Regions from separate parts of the Homo sapiens genome. Here all the other regions are linked to region 3. The links are contacts of gene promoters, found by promoter capture Hi-C in blood cells and fetal thymus (Javierre and others, 2016). All regions are on one chromosome and are shown on one strand. The core of a region is centred on a gene start or on the middle of the fragment in contact, and the rest is flanking DNA. Distances in the headings are between cores, read along the strand shown. Region 1 has its middle 24 kb from the start of RMDN2. Region 2 overlaps PIRAT1 (PU.1 (SPI1) induced regulator of S100A8 and S100A9 alarmin transcription 1). Region 3 holds the start of CEBPZ (CCAAT enhancer binding protein zeta). Region 4 overlaps PIRAT1 (PU.1 (SPI1) induced regulator of S100A8 and S100A9 alarmin transcription 1). Region 5 has its middle 8.1 kb from the start of PIRAT1. Region 6 overlaps PIRAT1 (PU.1 (SPI1) induced regulator of S100A8 and S100A9 alarmin transcription 1). Region 7 has its middle 1.5 kb from the start of RMDN2.

Evidence for each region. The method cuts DNA at HindIII sites, captures the fragments that hold promoters and counts their contacts. A CHiCAGO score of 5 or more calls a contact.
Region 1: a contact is called between a fragment that was not itself captured here and the fragment with the promoter of CEBPZ in region 3, in 1 of 17 cell types (M1 macrophages). The highest score is 5.1, in M1 macrophages.
Region 2: a fragment that was not itself captured here is called in contact with the fragment with the promoter of CEBPZ in region 3 in 4 of 17 cell types (naive B cells, neutrophils, total B cells and 1 more); the score reaches 5.9 in naive B cells.
Region 4: a contact is called between a fragment that was not itself captured here and the fragment with the promoter of CEBPZ in region 3, in 2 of 17 cell types (endothelial precursors and naive B cells). The highest score is 5.9, in endothelial precursors.
Region 5: a fragment that was not itself captured here is called in contact with the fragment with the promoter of CEBPZ in region 3 in 10 of 17 cell types (activated CD4 T cells, neutrophils, fetal thymus and 7 more); the score reaches 8.7 in activated CD4 T cells.
Region 6: a contact is called between a fragment that was not itself captured here and the fragment with the promoter of CEBPZ in region 3, in 4 of 17 cell types (activated CD4 T cells, naive B cells, total B cells and 1 more). The highest score is 7.6, in activated CD4 T cells.
Region 7: a fragment that was not itself captured here is called in contact with the fragment with the promoter of CEBPZ in region 3 in 4 of 17 cell types (total B cells, fetal thymus, activated CD4 T cells and 1 more); the score reaches 6.2 in total B cells.

Annotation. Positions count from the first base shown.
Region 1 is chr2:37,899,688-37,902,451 of GRCh38, reverse strand. No RefSeq gene overlaps it. Among named protein-coding and RNA genes, the nearest start is that of RMDN2, 24 kb to the left of the region's middle. The HindIII fragment of the contact is 3,778 bases long and covers 1-2,764 here.
Region 2 is chr2:37,826,347-37,829,046 of GRCh38, reverse strand. It overlaps PIRAT1 (PU.1 (SPI1) induced regulator of S100A8 and S100A9 alarmin transcription 1), which reads left to right. Exons shown (of 4, transcript NR_110012.1): 3 at 9-114; 4 at 1,169-2,700. Among named protein-coding and RNA genes, the nearest start is that of PIRAT1, 48 kb to the left of the region's middle. The HindIII fragment of the contact is 1,371 bases long and covers 652-2,022 here.
Region 3 is chr2:37,230,318-37,233,017 of GRCh38, reverse strand. CEBPZ (CCAAT enhancer binding protein zeta) reads left to right here and starts at 1,422. Exons shown (of 16, transcript NM_005760.3): 1 at 1,422-1,606. The coding sequence starts at 1,451. It overlaps NDUFAF7 (NADH:ubiquinone oxidoreductase complex assembly factor 7), which reads right to left and starts at 1,360. Exons shown (of 10, transcript NM_144736.5): 1 at 1,258-1,360; 2 at 752-912. The coding sequence starts at 1,312. RefSeq lists enhancers at 1,471-1,920, 878-2,077. The HindIII fragment of the contact is 13,102 bases long and covers 1-2,700 here.
Region 4 is chr2:37,861,517-37,864,216 of GRCh38, reverse strand. All of the region lies in intron 2 of PIRAT1 (PU.1 (SPI1) induced regulator of S100A8 and S100A9 alarmin transcription 1), which reads left to right. Among named protein-coding and RNA genes, the nearest start is that of PIRAT1, 13 kb to the left of the region's middle. The HindIII fragment of the contact is 1,091 bases long and covers 826-1,916 here.
Region 5 is chr2:37,882,543-37,885,318 of GRCh38, reverse strand. No RefSeq gene overlaps it. Among named protein-coding and RNA genes, the nearest start is that of PIRAT1, 8.1 kb to the right of the region's middle. The HindIII fragment of the contact is 4,050 bases long and covers 1-2,776 here.
Region 6 is chr2:37,845,335-37,848,110 of GRCh38, reverse strand. The region is part of intron 2 of PIRAT1 (PU.1 (SPI1) induced regulator of S100A8 and S100A9 alarmin transcription 1); the gene reads left to right. Among named protein-coding and RNA genes, the nearest start is that of PIRAT1, 29 kb to the left of the region's middle. The HindIII fragment of the contact is 1,412 bases long and covers 623-2,034 here.
Region 7 is chr2:37,922,484-37,925,183 of GRCh38, reverse strand. It overlaps a transcript of RMDN2 not described here. Among named protein-coding and RNA genes, the nearest start is that of RMDN2, 1.5 kb to the left of the region's middle. RefSeq lists a silencer at 1-82. The HindIII fragment of the contact is 850 bases long and covers 864-1,713 here.

The DNA.
Region 1 (2,764 bases), core at 171-2,670, 670 kb before region 3:
GGTAGAGATTGTATTTGATAATTTTGAGGGTCTGTCTGGCCATGTGCTCTAAATGTAACGAGCCTGACAATTTTTGCCTGAAGGAGAAGGTACAAAAATATTGATGGATCAGTTAAGAACTCTTCCAACTACAAGTAACAACAGCAAGATAGTCTAACAGTCGTTTTTAAAAAGAGGCAAGTGGTTGCTGGCATTGATTCATCAATCAATGATGCCATCAAAAGCCAGACTCTGTCTTTCAGTTGTATTAGTCTCAGCTTTGGCTTTTTGTCCTAGTGCTTTTCTTGCTTAAGGCAGAAAGAAGCGAGAGAAAGACATGGTGCCAATTGTCAGGAAAGAAAAGCTATCTCAGAAACCCCCCATGAAACTTATCCTTTCAACTCATTTGCCGGAAATAGAACACATGGCCTTTCCCAGCTGCAAGAGAAGCTGGAAACCAGGTACCTGGCTTTCTGACCTCAAGAGTAGGAGAATGAAAGAGAGAAGGAGGTTTGGAATGGTTTTGGGTTAATTTGCTCACAGAGTCTGCCACACCAACCAAGGGAGAGTTGGAGGGAATGTGTAGCCAAGACAAGATGTAGAACTCTGAAATACACAACAGTGGATGTAAAGCACATGGGAGGTATATATATGGGACAATGTCTTCTTCAATCTCTCTGTAATCTTTCCACATACTGTCTTTAGTGCTTCATGCTATATATACTATAACACATTAACATAATTATATTAAGAGATACCTTGCACTGAAGAATTTTAAAGCAATATTATTGTCTATTCAATCACGGTATCCTAATTTTTAGGTTCAAGTTAATACTCAATGTTCATGTATTATGGAGTCTAAGAATACCTTAACAGTAACTGCCAATTGCTGGCATATTCAGGCAAGATTTTTTAAAAATATAAATTCTCATGTATTCTGTGGTTTGTATAAAAGCCTGTGGTTTGAGATGCCTTCAACAGGGTTGGAGGAGTGGAAAGAGAAAGAGAACAGGAGAAAATAGCAACCAGGTGGGGAAGCTCTTTTGAAAGAAGAGAGCTCTCTGGAATATTGTCTTGAGGGTGTTACAGAAGGTAGACACAATAAAACTGTAAGGAAAGAAAGTGGGCCTGGGAGAGTATGATTTAAAAAAAAAAAACAGAGGAAACATTTTTAAATCTAGAGAGTCAAAGCATTGAGAGTGTAGTGCTTGTATATCCCCTACCTAACTTCATTTGTTGAAATTCTAACTCCCAATGTGATGGGGTTAGGAGGCGAGGCCTTTGGTAATTGATTAGACCGTGAGGGTGGAGCCCTCATGAATGGTATTAGTGCCCTTATAAAAGAGACCTGGAGAGCTCACCTCCCCTTCTGCCATATAAGGTTACAGTAAAAAGACAGCAGTCTGTGAACCAGGAAGTGGGCCCTTACCAGACATCAAATCTGCTGGTGATACAGAATGGCTGGGCTCCCAGCTAAACCCCACCCTCAAGCCTGGAACCTCAGCCCTAACTGAAAACAGCTGACCCCATTTTTCTGCCCAAATGTTGTTGTTTTGGCCTGCCATAACCCTATCCTCTGCCCATAAAAAGACTTCAGCTGGCAGAGCAACACAAGGCGGCTGATGCAAACGGCTGGGGATGCAAGCAGCTGAGCGCTGGGGATACCAGTTGCTGAATGTCAGGGATATAAGTGGCTGGGTGTTGCAGACTATCTATAGATGGCGGCTAATTTCAGACGGTGTGGATTCAGGGAAAGATCACCTTCTTCCCGCACCATCCCCTTTCTAACTCCCATCCCACTGAGAGCCATCACCCAGTAAAATCCTCCGCATATGCTACCCTTCAATCTGTTCGTGTGACCCGATATGTCCTGGATGCCGAACAAGAACCCAGGTGCCCAGAGGGCAGGGGCTTGGATGCTGTTATGGGGCCCACACAGAGCCTGCTCCCGCCAGAGGAGTGACCGGCCTGTTCTAGCGCTCGTTCCCTCCCGTTCCTGCACTCGCTTGCTCGCACGCTCCCACGCTCCTTCTCGCATGAGGAGCGGCCAGTGATGGGCTGAGTGAAACAAGCCACTCCAGTTCCCGCCCACAAAGGGGGTCAAGGAAACTATCCCATCTCACTGGCACCTTGATTTTGGACTTCACAGCCTTCAGAACTGTGAGAGATAACTGTTTGTTGTTTAAGGCATCCAGCTATGATATTTTTGTTATGGCAGCCTGTATTAGTCTATTTTTCACACGGCCAGTAAAGACATACCCAAGACTCAGCAATTTACAAAAGAAAGAAGTTTAATGGACTTACAGTTTCACATGGCTGGGGAGGCCTCACAATCATGGCAGAAGGCAAGGAGGAACAAGTCACATCTTACTTGGATGGCAGCAGGCAAAGAGAGAGCTTGTGCATGGACACTCTGCCTTGTAAAGCCATCAGATCTCATGAGACGTATTCACTATCACGAGAACTGCACAGGAAAGACCTGACCCCGTGATTCAATTACCTCCCACCAGGCCCCTCTCACAACATGTGGGAATTCAAGATGAGATTTGGGTGAGGACACAGCCAAACCATATCACAGCCTCACCAGACTAAGGCAGAGATTATTACAAGTAAACTAAAATTTGTTGAATAATTGTGATGAATGTCTAATCATACTATCTGAATTCTCATTTGCCAGATTCTTCCTGTCCAATATTTCTAAATCCAGTGGAAACATAGAAGGAAGATAACCCAAATTAAAACATTTTTCTTCCAGCTGGGTGTAGGAGCTAGTGTCTGTAATCCC
Region 2 (2,700 bases), core at 88-2,587, 600 kb before region 3:
AGAGACAGATTCTTCTTATGTTGCTATTTTAAACTCCTGAACTCAAGTGATCCTCCTGCCTTGGCCTCCCAAAGTGCTGGGATTACAGGTGTGAGACACTGCACCCTGCCCAAGGTAATATTTTGACCTTCCTTTACCTTATTCTTTGTCCATCTCTTAATTAGTTTATAACTTAGACGGGAAAAAAGAGGTGTCTAAATAAATAAATAAATAAATTTATTTAAATAAATATTAAATAAATCCCATCAGTTCCCCATAGAATGCCATTTTCCCCTAGCTGTCTATTCATGTAACAAAACGAACAAGAAAACACTACAAATTCTCTCCCTATTTATACTGTCCCACCATTATGTTATAACTCTCATTATAATGTTTTAGTTTTTCCTTGAAATAATAATCATCAACCCATTTGTAAACCATATGTTTCTACCCACAAGTGACAACCAGAATTTCAGGATTAATTGCAAGAGCCATAAAGAGCTTTTTGGTCATTTCCCTAAGAGCCTCCATGAATAGTAACAAGGGCGAATAGTAACCCCCGGCTTCAGCTGTCCCCACTGCTGTGGCAGGTTATGATACTTTCTTTCCTAAAGTAAAGGCCAAGACAGATGGCTTTTCAGGACTTCCAGAGTCTGTATGACATAAGAAGCTTATTCCAGTAAAGGGAACAAGACCCTTGTCATCTGACACCAATGAGATGCTCTTCCCTTGGCTGGCAGGGATCTGGAGGAGGAGGAGCAGATAACCTTCAGCCTAAATAAGCAATACCATCATTATTCTGGAATCTCTCTGAAGTATGGTTGGTTACAGTGTGGAATTCCACAGGGCACGTGCCTGTCTTGGACTCTATCCAAGGGAGTAAGTTATCACAAGGACCTCATTATAACAGGGGCTCCAGGGACAGTGTCAGTCAGCAGGCTTCAAGGTAGCTGCTAAAATTCTGGTGCTGGTCTGTTTAATCACTGCATGCTTGTTAATACAGTCAAGCCTCAGTTACAACAGAATCAACAGCCCAGTTTGTCACTCATCCATTCCTTGTTCCGTCACCGCCTGGTTGAGTTTCTGGCTTGTTTATGGGGCAACTCTGGGTGTCGGGCAAAATGAATGCCTCTTGTTTGAAATGCCTAATCCCGAGGTTTTTCACCTATGTGTTGTTTTCTCCCACCAGCACCTCTGCTCCGTGCCATGCTCTTGGCTAATTGGAGTTGTGAAAGGCATGAGGATTCTGGTCATGGACTCAGCTCTCCCATAGGGTTCTGACACCAAAGCAATGGTCACAACAGTGAAAGGAAGAATCCATCTGGCCAGGCTCAGGTGGTTCAAGGCCTTCAGAATCTGCCTTGAGACTCTCACTGGCTTTAGACTGAAAACCATCTTGGCCCCGTCCATCCGTGTAAGCAATTTAACGACAGCTTGCAAAGCACCGAGCTTTAACAGAAAGAAGAGATGAGCACAGCGCAAGAACTTGGACTCCAGAAGAGCTGCCTAACAGATTATTTTTCTGTGGCATTTCATGAGAACAAACGAAGTAGGAATTTTCCTTTTGTTTGTCTGGCCTTTGGCATCGTTTACTTTCTTTTTATTCTTCTGAAATGTACTTCGAGCCCTGGCAGCATTTCTGTCCTAAAATCTTATTGTCAGAGGTTTATTTTTCAGCTTTTCAAATCATATCTGATAGAGTGAGTGTACTGCCTGGACTCATCACTTTACTTCAGAAGAAATACAGCTCACCCTTTAAATGACAATGGTGACTGTCCACATCTTTATGTTTTCTACACTGAAGTGGCAGGCTTCATTTAAAAATAATGTTTTCCCTCATCAAAAGAGAGCTAGGGTAGAACCGTCAACTCTGCTGTTGTCTGGGTAGTGACCTAACACCCACGTTTTGGACAATCACTCACTGTCTTATATTGGGTTTTCATTGCATGTAGGATAATTCTTTGTCAATGGTAGTTTTGTCAACCGTGATCTGAGGTAATGAGGTTTTCTACTTTTGCTTGAAATTTTGAAAATATGCAAGCTTTAAACATTTGCAAAGTTGGATTCTGTTTTCTTTAGAAAGCAATCTGATTTGCTGATATTCTCTCCATCTGTCAGGGGATGCGTGATGTGGTGTAGACTTAATGTGCTGCCTTTCTGGAACATGGACAGAGTAGCAGCACAGAAAAATGAGCATTTCAGCTCTGTGATGATTTGTGAAAAAAAATCTCAGATCATTGAGCAGGCATTTTGCTGACACCTGTGAAAAGTAACCACATGAGAGAGCATGGCGTGATGGTCGGAGGCCACGTGCTGGAGCTGGACTGCTTGAGTCAAATCCCAGCTGCTCAGCTGTAGTGAACTGAATGGTGGTCCCCAAAAGATACATGTATCTCCTAATCCCTGGAACCTGTGAATGTGACCTTATTAGGCAAAAGGGTCTTTGCAGATGTAATTACATTGAGGCTCTCAGAGATGAGAACATCCTGGATTATCAGGGTGGGTCCTATATCCAATGACAAGTGTCTCCTTATAGGAGACAGAAGAAGTTGCAGACCCGGAAGAGACTAAGTAAAGATGGAGGCAGAGACTGGAGTGAGGCTGCTGCAGGCCAAAAATGCCTGGTGCCAGCAAAAGCTGGAAGAGGCAAGGAAGGACCTTTCCCTGGGGCTTTTGGAGGGAGTGCAGCCCTGCTGATGCCTTAGTGTTGGATATCTGGGC
Region 3 (2,700 bases), core at 173-2,672:
AAAGAAAGATACCGGCCTTGGGTAAACCTCGACACTAGAGTCACACTACCATATCCAACAACAATGGCCAATCTAACCCCAGAATTCCACAGAGGTCATATTTCAACCCAGCAAAAGATGAAATATTCTAAAATAAAGGACTATAGGCTTTCACCAAATGGCTCTGTAGAACAGACAAGGAAACGTGGGTCAGAAAGCTGTGACTGTGCCTAATCCTAGAACAGTGAAGACGACCCAGACTGCATTCTCAACTGCACATGTGAGAAAACCCAGCACATGTCTCCAATGCCAGCTGAAGCCATTCCAACACAGACGACTTTCCAGGCAGTAATTCCTATTTCCAGCTGCCTGTTGGAGATTTCTACCTAAGAGTCCCACACACTTCAAATTCATATACCAGCCTGAACTCTCCATCCTTCCTCCCGTATTCCTTCTCCCAAAGCAATGAATCCACACCACCCACCATCAGCCAAGTAGGAAAGTCATCCTTCCCGCATCATAAATCCAATCAGCTACATTCTGTCTCCTAAACACCCTTGGACCGTGTCCTCTCCTCTTTACTGGCACTGCCTCTGACGTGAGCCAGCCCTGACCAACTGACAAATTATCTGTCCCCAGGTCCTCAGAAATGGCTCTTCCCCTGGCAGGCACCCCCACTGCCTGGGCTGAGAACCTTCGGGCTTCTCCCTCCTGGCTTGCACCTCGCAAATCGGCTAGAGAGGGCCTAGTCCTCGGGCTACCCGACCCATACCTTGGCTGGATTAGTCAACACCTCCTTCATGTACTCGGCCACAGTGATGGGACCAGTAGACTTTATTTTGTACATAAGATGCCGCAGCATCGGCGTCACCGGGTTTTCTGCAGGCTCATTCCCGGAGCTGAAGTATTTCCCTCTCCAAATAAAAGGAATGGCTGCGAAAAACACAAATTAAACAGACCCCATGATAAATCTGACCATTCACGAGCGCAAGCCGCCTGAGCGTTTTCAAAACAGCTTCGTGAACCCTTAACCTCGCCCCACCGCAGACCGCGGGCTACTGTGCTTAGCACGCCCACGGGGCGCAGAGACAGCACCCACTTGCCCACGACTACGCAGCCCTATTGCGTTTGTACCGGACCCGTTTCCAGCCCAGGGTACCTTCAAGGTGGAAGTGAGCCCCCGAGCCCTTGATCCCCCGGTACCCTCAACTGAAGAGCTGAGGAAGGCGCCCCACGCGGCTTCCACGGCAACCGGGCTTCGAGGGGACTGACGCTTACCTGCGCGCGCCACGGCACACAACGGCCCCAAACCTGACCTCAGCAGTACACTCATGCTGAAATTCGCAGGCTAGCTCGCTCCGCCAGGAGCTGGGGCTTAGACCATTTCCGGGAGAAGACACGCCCCGACAGGAATTACGCCACTGGCAGAGCGGAAATAGGCTGAGTTTCACGCGCGTATGCTTTGCCCGCCATGGCCGCAGTCAAGGAGCCTTTGGAGTTCCATGCCAAGCGGCCTTGGCGCCCCGAGGAGGCAGTAGAAGATCCGGACGAGGAGGATGAGGATAATACTAGTGAAGCCGAGAATGGGTTCTCCCTGGAGGAAGTGTTACGGCTCGGAGGCACCAAGGTAACGGCCGCGGGCTCCGGGGAACGGGATCAGGCGTGGAGAGTTCCGAAGGTGGCTAGGCTGACTGCCCCGCCGCTTCCGCGCTGCGTAGAGCGCGGGCGTCCAGGACCGAGATCCCAGCCTCTGAAGCATGTGTTCGGTGCGCTTCCCACGCCGGTTTCCACTGCTGTTTACAAAAGAAAAGTTTCGAATTGAACGTTGTATTCTCTGGCTATTCTTAGGATGTAGGCGATCTTCTGATTTTATTGACGTGGTATAACCATCACACCATCAGGTCGGAGAGTGGCTTTTCTTGGTCCTGACCTTGTGGTATGAGTGTTTTGAACACCAGTGGTATTGGAATTTTCATTTCTGTTCTCATAGAGTACATGCACGTGTCACTGTATGCCCCAGAAGCCCTCTTTTTTGGAGCATCCTAATTAAGGGAGAGAAACAGTAAACAAACTTTTAAACACATAGTACAGCAGACGCGGGGTAGTGCTATAAAAGAAAATAAAACAAGGAAGGACGATAAGGAGTGGGAGCGCGTTAGTATTAAATGAGATGATCGACAAACACATCACGGAAATGTTTGAGCAGAATCCTAAAGGACAGGAAGGAGTGAGCTGCCATTCCAGTCAGTTGGAACAGCAAATGCAAAGACAGGCAGAAGAGTGCCTAACCTATTCCATGAGCAGCCAAAATGCCAGTGTAGCAGAGGCAGAGTGAGTTAAGGGGAGAATAGTAAGAAAGGAGGGCCGAGGGGTCAGAGGGCAGGCTTTTGCTCTGAGTTTGATGCAAAACCACTGGAAGATTTTAAGCAGATAAGGAACAGAAATTAACTTTGTTTTTAATATTATTTTGTTTGGAGACTGGACTTTCAAGGTGGAGGAGTTAGTTAGAGATAGGCAGATTCACAGTTTGCTCTGTGCTTGTGTATATTTAAGTTTTGAATAGGTAATATATACACATGAAACACGTGGTGCAAACTTTAAAAGATACATAGTGAAGTCAAATTGTTTCCACTTTTATCTCAGCCATAACCATTGCCCTGATAGGAAGCAATTATTTTTACAACTGCATTTTATATCTTTCAGGGATACTATATACCTTTT
Region 4 (2,700 bases), core at 122-2,621, 630 kb before region 3:
TGGAGGTGGGCACGGAAGAGTCAAAGGCCACATAAAATGTTGAGGCAGAACACGAGGAAAAGTGTGAAGTCAGTGGTAGGATCTGGCTGAGGGATTATGGGAAGGAATAAGTGTCGTTTGGGGTACAGAGATTTGTGGCAGCAGAAGGCATCAGATTGCCAGCTGGTTGAATATTTGGGACCAGCTTTTTGTCCCCAAGGCTTGGAGCAGGGGACAGATCCAGAGAATGCTACACAGAGATGGGGCAGGAGAGGAGAGACGACAGAAAGGCCAAGTGCAGGGATTACATGGTGAGGGCTGAGGGCAGAGAGTAGGGAGACCCCTATGTGTTTGCACAGGAGGAGAGAGAGGAGCCGGGAAGAAGTGATGGAGGAGCTTTTGGAGAGAATGCGGGGCAGAGAGCAACGGAGCACAACCTCACAGAAATTGAGGGAGACCTTTCCAGAAAGAGGGTGGGGTTGGGGAGGTTGTTAATGGAGTCCAATACTGGGACAGTCACAGATAAGAAAGGTGGATCAAAGCCATTGGAATGGACAATCATGAAGCCATGAAAAACAGATGGTGGGTTACTCTTGCTCTTTGAATACATTTGAAGGTAAAGAGAGGGGGTCAAAGAGGTAAAAGGACTTTTTCTTGTTGCCTTGTGAGCAACGGAGCACCTGTGCTCACTTCTAGGTAGAGAGAACAAAGCCAAGGGAGAGGGAAGCTTTAAAACAAAAAATCAGAAGGGAGGATGATTGGAGCAAAGTTACAGAGGGGGCCCAGGACAAGAAAGATGAGGGTGTCATCCTCAGAGACAGGAGGAAAAAATGAATGACTGAAGCTTCAAAAGGAGAGACATGGAGAAAGGTCATGTCTATGGCTCGGTGTCTCAGGAGAGTGAGAGGACAACCTGAGGGAATGAGGCTTGGGTGGGGACTTGAGGAGAATGGGAAAGACTTGGGGAGCCAATCTGAGAGATGCCTGAAAATTCATGAATCTTGTCCAAAGGATTGTCCAGCAGCCGTGAGGGTCATCTGCAGGCTCGATAGCCCGTGTCAGTGGCTTCAGTCAGCACAGCCCTGCGACTGTTCTCCTCAGTGTTTGGCAGCTCAAGAGAGAGGCCAGAGAGGGTTGGGGCAGCAAGGACAGTGCTGATGCAGTGGAGGTCAAGGTCAGGAGGGAATGTTAGAGATGTCTGATGGTCATCTGGGAGGGCCAGGGGCCTGCCAGGATGAGGAGGAGGGAGGTGTGGGCGTGGTGGCAGCTGTGTAGGAGGAGGATGTGCTGCCTGCCTGCCTGCCAGTGCCCCCAGATTCATTCCTGTTCTTTCCAGGGCCCCTCTCCTTCCAGCCTTCAGGCAGTGTACACCAATGGGGGGCCCTGAGGGAGCACTGGGGGTGCAGAGGGGGCGAATCGTGGTCATTTCTTGCCTTCTTCCCCCTTCCTGTGGCCTCACTTACAGTGGCTGTGTTTCCTTCTTGGCTGTGGATCCTGCAGGGAAACCCTTTCCTCCATGATCCCAGCTCCCACTAAGCAGCCACTGCCCCATGGCCCTGACGACCAGTCTCTGGTCACGCTACTTCCTCCCCATGTTCCTCCAGTCTCAGCAGTGGTCCTGGGTTACTAAAGATGCTAATCTCTCTATAATCTGTGAAGTGATTCCCTGGTTGAAATATCTAGAGTGGTTTCTGTCTTCCTCAGAGGACTTTAACTGATATACCGGAAAAGAATTAAAAACAAATATATCTCTCTTGATCTGCTCCCATCTCCTTTTTATACCTTTGCCTCCAAACAAGTGGGGAACAATATATAGTTTAAAAGTTATCCAAAGCAGCAAAATAAAGGAATGTGCACGTGTGGATACAAATGTCTTCTGATTGGAGAAAAGATGGGGCATGATGGCCTTGGGGTAACTGGAAGAGCCAGCACAAGCTTCTTTGCCACCTTCCAGAGATGAAAGCGGTGTGAACACAGAGCCAGGTTTGAGTATGCCGTCATCTATGTGGCCCTCTGGCCTCTAAGTAGCTCCTCTACCATAGGTTTGGTACCTGAAATTCCTCTATTCCTGATATATATATATATATTTTCTATTTGAGTCCAGTTACTTTTCAGCTCCAGGAAGTTTCTGTTGAAATAGAATAAGCAATATAAGAAAGCCACTCTATTAGACCAGGATGGGCTGGCTCTCCAGTTGGAGACGCGTTAGGGGATAGAACCATAATAGAGCTTGGGTTTGAATAGACAGAGAGAAATGGGAAGATTTGTAGGGACAAGCCAGGTGGAGGGTGGCCATGAGGACCAATGGACAGAGAGGGCAGGTTTGCTGGGAATAGACAATGAGCACCTCTACCTGGCTGGCACTTTAAGCAATGGAGGGAGAGGAGGTTGGGCAGGTGGGCTGGAACCCGAGGACCTAGACTGCTGGACTAAGGATTTGCACTTGTCCCAGAAGGCAGTGGGAAGCAGAGCTCTGCACAGAGCTAGAGCATGTCAAGTGGCATGTTAAGACAAAGACAAAGCCCTGAGTCCAGTGGCATCATGGAGAATGGATTGAAAGCAAAGGGAAACTAGAGACAGGAAGACTGACGAGGAGGTCATTGCAATAATCCAGACAAATTGTGATGAGGACCTGGACTAGAATAGTGGCAGGAGACCAGGGAAATAAAGGATGTGAGAGATATTAGGGAGGGACTATTCCACAGGATGAGGCTGGTTGGG
Region 5 (2,776 bases), core at 167-2,666, 650 kb before region 3:
ATGGTGGCAGCAAAGCAAGGCACTAGCTTCCAACTGTTCTTAGAAGGAAATCTTATGCCAAAGCTGAAAATGTAAAATGGACTAAAGCAGAACTATGCAGTGGGGATGGGGTGGGATAAAAATACAGTCTGAGAACTGCTGGTTCAAAAGAAGACCCTCAGTGGCAGGTGCTTTACTGAGGGGTTCCTGACCAAGATCCCCACAGGTAAGGCGTCAGATTCATCAGAGTCTGAGAGACCAACTCAGGCTAGAGACCAAGTGTAGGAGACGGAGGTCAACACCAAATGTCAACTACTCTTCTTAGTGAGAAAAAATGGACTGGACTGTTTACAATTTTCTGTACTTACTATATGGCAAAGTGAGTCGTAATCAGAAACCACTTTATTAATTTATCATGAGAAAGCATGATCATCAGTCTGGAACTGTGATTCAAAGTCTGTATCTTTAACGTTCTCTTTTCATATAGACATATGGAAGAACATAATCAGAAGGACTCAACTAAGGGGAAATTAAAGAATGAAATCAAATTTTTAATCACATCAGCTAAAATATTCTGATATTTCTATCTTCTAAATCAAGAGACTCCAAATTTTGATGATAGCACACCTCAATCAGCAAAAACTACTGGGGCCCACATTGCCAGTATAGGCCTATTTATTTATGAATTATGTGTACCTTCTACTGACATTTTGAACATTAAACATCAATCAAAATTAATTTAAAAATGGGCCGGGTGTGGTGGCTCACGCCTGTAATCCCAGCACTTTGGGGGGCCAAGACAGGTGGATCACCTGAGGTCAGGAGTTTGAGACCAGCCTGACCAACATAGTGAAACCCCGTCTCTACTAAAAAAACAAAAAAATTAGCTGGGTGTGGTGGTGGGTGCCTGTAATCCCAGCTACTCGGGAACCTGAGGCAGGAGAATCGCTTGACTGGGAGGCAGAGGTTGCAGTGAGCCGAGATCATGCCATTGCACTCCAGCCTGGGTGACAGAGAGACCCCATCTCAAAAAAGAAAAAAAATAGTTCGAATATTTTCTTTACTTGTTACAGTGGAATATTTCAACTATCATTTAATAAAAGAAATAGATTTTACATACATGAATTTCCTGTGTATGACTCTTTTGGATGGATATATTGAAAACATTCTATAAAATGCATAAGATGCGTGACAATTACTTTCCTCAGGTGTGCTCTAATGAGATTATTATAGTAACTGTATGGTAACTATTGTCATCCCAATATGTAGAAACTCTGATTCCAAGCTCCTAACTTTTGTGTTTGCCCTTTGTCTACCTTTGAAGAGCATGCTGCTTCCCTTCCTTGCATGGAAATACCATGATCATTAAAAATATTGAAGACATCAAACAAGTAAGCAAGTCTGACTGTCCGTTTCATATCTGCAAAAGTTAGGACTAAACTGATTTCTTATCTTGCAGAAACATAACTATGACTTCATGTCATAGTTCAAACATCCTTGACTTGACAGAACATTTCCTTTCAATGACCATCCCACCTCATCAAGAAACGATTGTTATTGTTTGGATCAGTATCCATATTAACACATAATAAAGAAAATGATTTGAATTGAACATATTGGCTGTGAGGTCATTCAGTTTTTACTATATCACTAAGCACACTGTGTAGTTCGGCTGACTTGTAAAAGGTTTTTAACAGGATTTTCTCAATGAAGAAAACTAGAAATTAATTAACAGTCACTGGCACAAGCTCCTTAAGCTGGGTAACCATTCCATAATGTTTTCCTGTCATTGGAATTACAACACCAGACCATATTCATACATGCAATTTAAACTCTTCATCATAGTTATTTATAATATAGTCCTTCCCAGTTGTATATGGTTCAGAGCTAGTTGTGTTTCATGGTGATTAAGTTGCTAAACACAATTTTTCCTTTACACCAAGTCGGCAATATGTGTGTATTCATCAAGTTGAAACAGACAGCACTTTGTTAGCATTATAGACCAGCTAGAAAGGTGGGAGCCTGTACCAGAGCAGTTAGAGTAGGATATAGAGAAACAAATACATCCAAGAAATATTCATGAGGCCAAGTTGAAGGAGTAGGATGAGGATATGGGGATGAAGGGGTAGAAAGAACATGTCAGAGACTACTTTCAGGTTTCTGGCTTGGATACCTAGATGGATGGTGATATTAGTAAATACTATAGAGAATATAGGAGAAAGATAAGGTTTGAAACGAAGTTGATGAGTTTACTTCTGTGCCACATACTGAGATTGAGGTTCTTGAATAGATTGATCATTCATCATGGTTTGCCTGAACTGTGTGGATTTATGCCTGTTGTCCTAGTTTAATTAGTAATTGCACCCTCTTTCCTCTCAAAAAGAAAACTACTTGACTGCTTCATTTGTTCTTGAGTTGGTCTCCTAGATCATTAGCCATTTCCTGAATATGTCAGGTTATGGAGTCATTAGAAAGTGGTACTAGAGGCTAGGTGCAGTGGCTCACACCTGTAATCCCAGCACTTTAGGAGGCCGAGGCAGGCAGATCACGAGGTCAGGAGTTTGAGACCAGCTTGACCCAAACGGTGAAACCCCATCTCTACTAAAAATACAAAAATTAGCTGGGCATGGTGGCGTGCACCTGTAATCCTAGCCACTCAGGAGGCTGAAACAGGAGAATCGCTTGAACCCAGGAGACAGAGGTCGCAGTGAGCTGAGATCACGCCACTGCACTCCAGCCTGGGTGACAGAGCAAGACTCTGTCTTAAAAAAAAAAAAAAAAAAAAAAAAGAAAAGAA
Region 6 (2,776 bases), core at 79-2,578, 620 kb before region 3:
GTTTCCAAGTTTTTTTTTTTTTTTTTTTTTTTTCTTGATTACAAGCCTCCTTGAGAGCAAGGCGTGGTGCAGAATAGGCTCTTACATGTTGTTCAAAAGAGTCATCATCGCTGTTACCGTCAATCTGGCTGCAGTGAACAGAATGGACAGAGGGGGAGGCAGCCCAAAGGCCAAGAGATAGGCAATGAGACACAACATAGGAGAGGAAGTGTGGACTGGGATGGGGGTAACATGAATTGAGAGCGGGAAGCCTGTGAGAGACAATTTGGAAGTTAATGTTGGTGAAACAGAGCAACTGTGATTTGATCTATGTTGGCGGGTAAGATGGGGTGGAATTGGGGTCCAGGCATTACGAAGGGCTCCCAGGAGACATATTGCCAGGGTAGGCAGAAAGAGTCCTACTCCAGGGGAAGGCAGAGCTAACTGTGAAGATGTGGGTCTTGCTCAGTTGCTCCTTCTGCCTGGAATTCCCACTCACCCCCACTGTAAGTAATCCAATCATACACAACTTTCAGGAACATCTCAGAACATCTCAGAAGCCTGTGCCTTTTAGATGCCTATCAGAATCTCTATTTCTAGGCATTAGCTCTCCCACCTTCCAACCCATATAGCATTTTAAGCTTCCCATGTGGCATGTTCAGTTTCATGTCACACTTATTTGTTCTCTTACCCCTTCCTAACAGAACATAGGCTCCCTTTGTTCTGTGTTCATACCATTTTATTCATTTGAGTGGAACAACTGCCCTGATTCCAGAGCTTTATTTTCAGATCCAAGGGGAGGGGAAGAAGTCAACAGTGACTCCAAGGTTTTTGCCTGAACTATCAGAAGGATGGAGCTGCCATTAACTAAGATGGGGAAGAGCATGATTGATAAGAAATAGCAGGAGGTCATTTTTGGACAAGATATATTTGAAAAGTCTACTACACAGCCCACTGGAGATGTTGAGTGGACAGTTTGATATATAAATTTGAAACTTAGGAGTGAGATACAAGCTACAGGTATACATTTGGGAGTTGTTAACTTACAAAGGGCCTTTAAACGCTTCAGACTGGATGGGATCATCAGTAAACTGAATAGGGCTAGAAAAGAGAAGACATCCAAGGACTGAACTCTGAGGTACTCCAGAGTTTGGGGAGAAAAGGAATAAATAGCAAATGAGACTGAGAAGTGACTGATGTGAAAGAAGGAAAACAAACAAAATGCAGAGTCCTAAACATAGCAAGATTAAAGGATTTCCAGGGGAAGGGAATCATCTATTACTTCACATTATGCTACTAGGTCAAGTAAGATAATGACCGAGAATTGAATTAGCAATGTGGAGGTCATTGGTGAACTTGAAAGAGTACTTTTGGTGGAATGGTGAGGACAAAGGTTTGATTGGAATGAGTGTAAAAGGGGAATGAAGGAGAGGAATTAGAGGCAAAAACTTTGAGAAATTTTCTGTAACAAGAGAAGTGGGACACTAGATGGGTGGAAAGATAAACTGAGGTTTCTTTCTTTTTTTTTTTTTTTTTTTTTCAGAAAAAAAAAAAATAATAATAGAAATACCAGCATGCTGATAGGAGTAATCCAAGAACAAGAGGAAAATTAGTGCAGGAGAGAGAGAGAGAGAGTGAGAGAGAGAGAGAGAGAGAGAGTGAGAGAGAGAGAGACAGGGAGAGGAGAAAGAGAGAGACAGAGAGAGGAGAAAGAGAGAGGGAGAGGAGAAAGAGAGAGACAGAGAGGAGGACAGAGACAGAGAGAGGAGAAAGAGAGAGACAGAGAGAGGGAGAGAACGGAGAATTACAAGAGTGGTGTCCTTGAACAGGTGAGAGGGAATGGGAGCTGGTGTACAAGTATAAGGAATGGCCCTATAGGCACAGATGGTTCATCCATAGTAATGAGAGGAAAGGTAGAGCACAGTTGTGGCAGGTGAGTAGATATGAAATGGAACATTGTGGAAGTTCTTTTATTTCTGCTTCAAGTTTCAGGAAAGAATGGGAAATACTTGGGTGCCAAAGGAAAAAAGAAAATTCAAACTAGGAAGGCAAGCTTCTGTGTTGATATTTCAGCCAGTGTGGGGAGGCGTCAGGAGTTGGTCAGATACTTTCCTGGCTTGGATTTTAATGGCTATGGAGGGACAGAGACAAGATTGCGTGTCTACAAAAGGTGCTGAGATGGCTACGTAAAGCCTGGACTCTCAAAGGACACCACTGAAAGGTTAGACTAGAAAACATTGTACCTGCTGGGCATGGTGGCTCATGCCTATAATCCCAGCACTTTGGGAGGCCGAGGCGGGCGGATTGCCTGAGGTCAGGAGTTCGAGACTGGTCTGGCCAACATGCTGAAGCACCGTCTGTACTAAAAATACAAAAAAATTATCTGGGCGTGGTGGCATGTGCCTGTAATCCCAGCTACTTGGGAGGCTGAGGGAGGGGAATTCTTTCAACCAGGGAGGTGGAGGTTGCAGTGAGTCAACATCGCACCACTGCACTCCAGCCTGGGTGACAGAGTGAAACTCCATCTCAAAACAAAAACAAAACAAAACAAAACAAAAAAACAGAAAACATTTTGCCAGTGGCCCAGATGATCATAGGGAAACTCATCTGGCTATGAGTGAATAAAAGCATCCTGCAAAATGCAAATCCCAGGCCTAACCTTCTCTCAAATTAGTGGTTCAAATATATGTTACCCCAGGAACCTCAAAACCAGAGCCAGTGATGCCCATGGGACGCCTGTAAAACACATGAAAAATCCATGGATGGATGCTCCCATAGCTGCAGGGGATTCTTGCAT
Region 7 (2,700 bases), core at 39-2,538, 690 kb before region 3:
ACCTTTTGCAAAATAAAATTGCACGTCGCGGGGCGCCTGGCTCGCGCCGGACCGTGTGTCTCGGCCGTCGCCTCCCTTCGAAGCCGGTCGGCACCTTTTCCCCCGCCTGGGCTCTGGGCCTCCGCGCTAGCCCCAGCGCGTTCCCTCTCGCGTTGCTGCCACTCCGCACGCCCACCGCCAGCTCGCTTCGTTCCGGCTCTCAAACCCACTCCCTCTCCCCTAGTTAAACCTTTTTCTGTGCCCTTTCTAGGCACAACCTTGCACTTTACTCCTCACGACTGAATTAAAGGCAGACGCCTTGCACTAATTACTGATATCTGCAGCCCCGTGTTCATAGCTTTATCTCACGTTTTCTTTTAATGAGCAATTTTGACAGCCTCTTCCTTCTCCCCGCCATTCCGAGTTGCCTTTAGATGAAAGCCGCTGTTTTTTCAGATGCCTGACATTTAAGGTTTTACCCAGCTTTCTGTGGTTTGTATAATGAAACTAATTCTGCTAAATACGCTCTTAAAAACTGGGCCGGGCGCGGTGGGTCACGCCTGTAATCCCAGCACTTTGGGAGGCTGAGGCAGGCGGATCACCTGAGGTCAGGAATTCGAGACCAGTATGGCCAACGTGGCGAAACCCCTGTCTCTACTAAAAATACAAAAAATTAGCCGGGCGTGGTGGTGGACGCCTGTAATCCCAGCTACTTGGGAGGATGAGGCAGGAGAATCGTTTGAACCCGGAGGCAGAGGTTGCAGTGAGGCGAGATCGCGCCACCGCACTCCAGCCTGGGTGATAGAGCGTCTCAAAAACAAAAACAAAACAGTACATACACTGCTTCTGTATTGTCCGCACCTTGAGTATTACTGCCTCAAGCTTAGGTTTGCATAACATTAATCTCTAAACTTCCCACCAATATATTGAGCAGAATTAAAAATGGGTACACTCTTTCTCAAAACAGCAACAGCAGACAACACCCATAAAGCCATGAAGAATCCAGAAGGCTTGTTTTGCAATCCATATACTACTGTTTACGGATAGGGATTCAGGGATTCTATAGGCTCTTTAAGATGATTTTTTGAGCTTCAGGCAAGCCGCATTGAAGAATAAGTAAGCCTGGCCATGGTCATTTTATTAAAAGTAATTTGTAGCAGGGCGCAGTGGCTCACGACTGTAAGCCCAGCACTTTGAGAGGCTGAGGCGGACGGATCACTTGAGGCCAGGAGTTCGTGACCAGCCTGGCCAATATGATGAAACACCATCTCTACTAAAAATACAAAAATTAGCCGAGTGTGGTGGCGCACTTCTGTAGTCCCAGCTGCTCGGGAGGTTAAGGCATGAGAATTGCTTAAACCTCAGAGGCAGAAGTTGCAGTGAGCCGAGATCGGGCCACTGCTCACCAGTCTGGGACAGAATGAGACTCTGTCTCAAAAAACAAGAGCAAAAACCTAAGTTGTATTTGGAAAAAGAGCAGATTAATCTTTAACCTCTCAGATTTGGAACTAGTAAAATATTACCTTCTACAAACCCACTTCACTCCTATTTATTATGGTTTGCAGCAATCTTGCAATATAATGCTAGCTTTATTTAACTAGAATACAATATGATATAAACCGATCATGCAAAACAATTTTCTCTTTTAACAAGATTTAGATACCAAAGAAACATGACTGTCTCTTCGCTAATACTTAAAAGGAGCTTTTCAGTATTTAAAACAAAATTTAAGCTTTTCCAGGAGCCCACTGAGTTGTTCACTGCTGCATCCCCAGCACATTGCACAGAAGAGGCTTTCAATAAAAATGTGACGTATGGGCTGTGAACAAGGCCTTACCAGTCTATTCCAAGAGGAAGATGGCAGCTGATACTGACTTGATCTTCAGGTTCAGGACATAGACTATGTCACACTTGCTCCTTTCCAATACATTTGTTTCTATTCCTTGATGAGTAAAAATTATCTGAAAGGTAGAAACTCAGGGACAGTGACAACCATTGACCTTGGCAAAGCTGTAACTAAATAGCAAAGACAGGCGCTATCTTTGCCAGGTACTGTTGCAGGGGTGACATAAAAAAGCAGAAATGATTCCCCTCCCCACTACTAGGAATGTCAGTCTAAAAGGAATATCTGAAGGAAAAACCAGAACATACTAAGAATCTCAGAGTTGCTGTTATTCATCAAACCAGTACGGCATGACAATCATTTGGGAGGAGTGGGTACAGACCCTTCACGATTTGCCCCAACCTACTTTTCCAGCTTTTCTCCGCTACTTCCACCAGACATCATTCTACACTTCAGCACTAGCTAAGCTACTGATCGTCTCTCCACAAGCTGTATCCTTTTTATCCTGTTCCTTGTGCCTGGAATATCCTGTTGCTTGCCACCCGTCCAAAACCAATTCAACCACTTCAACCTCTTTCCCTTGAGAAGCTACACACTCTCTCCTTCCCCATAAGAAGTATTCATCCATGCCCCATCAAAACTTATGGAAGGACCAGGAGTTTCAATGAATACAAAATGCCTCCCTGCTAGCTTACAGCAAACCTCTCTGGTGTACACTATATAATTACTGCTTGCCAGTGACTGTGTGTTTGTGAGGCTGTGAACATCTTCAAGGATGGTAGCATTTATCTTTGTATCTTGGGAACCTGGCATGGTGCACACCCTCTATATTAGATAACTATTTGAAAGTAGTATGTACATTTGAGGGAAAAGCATGA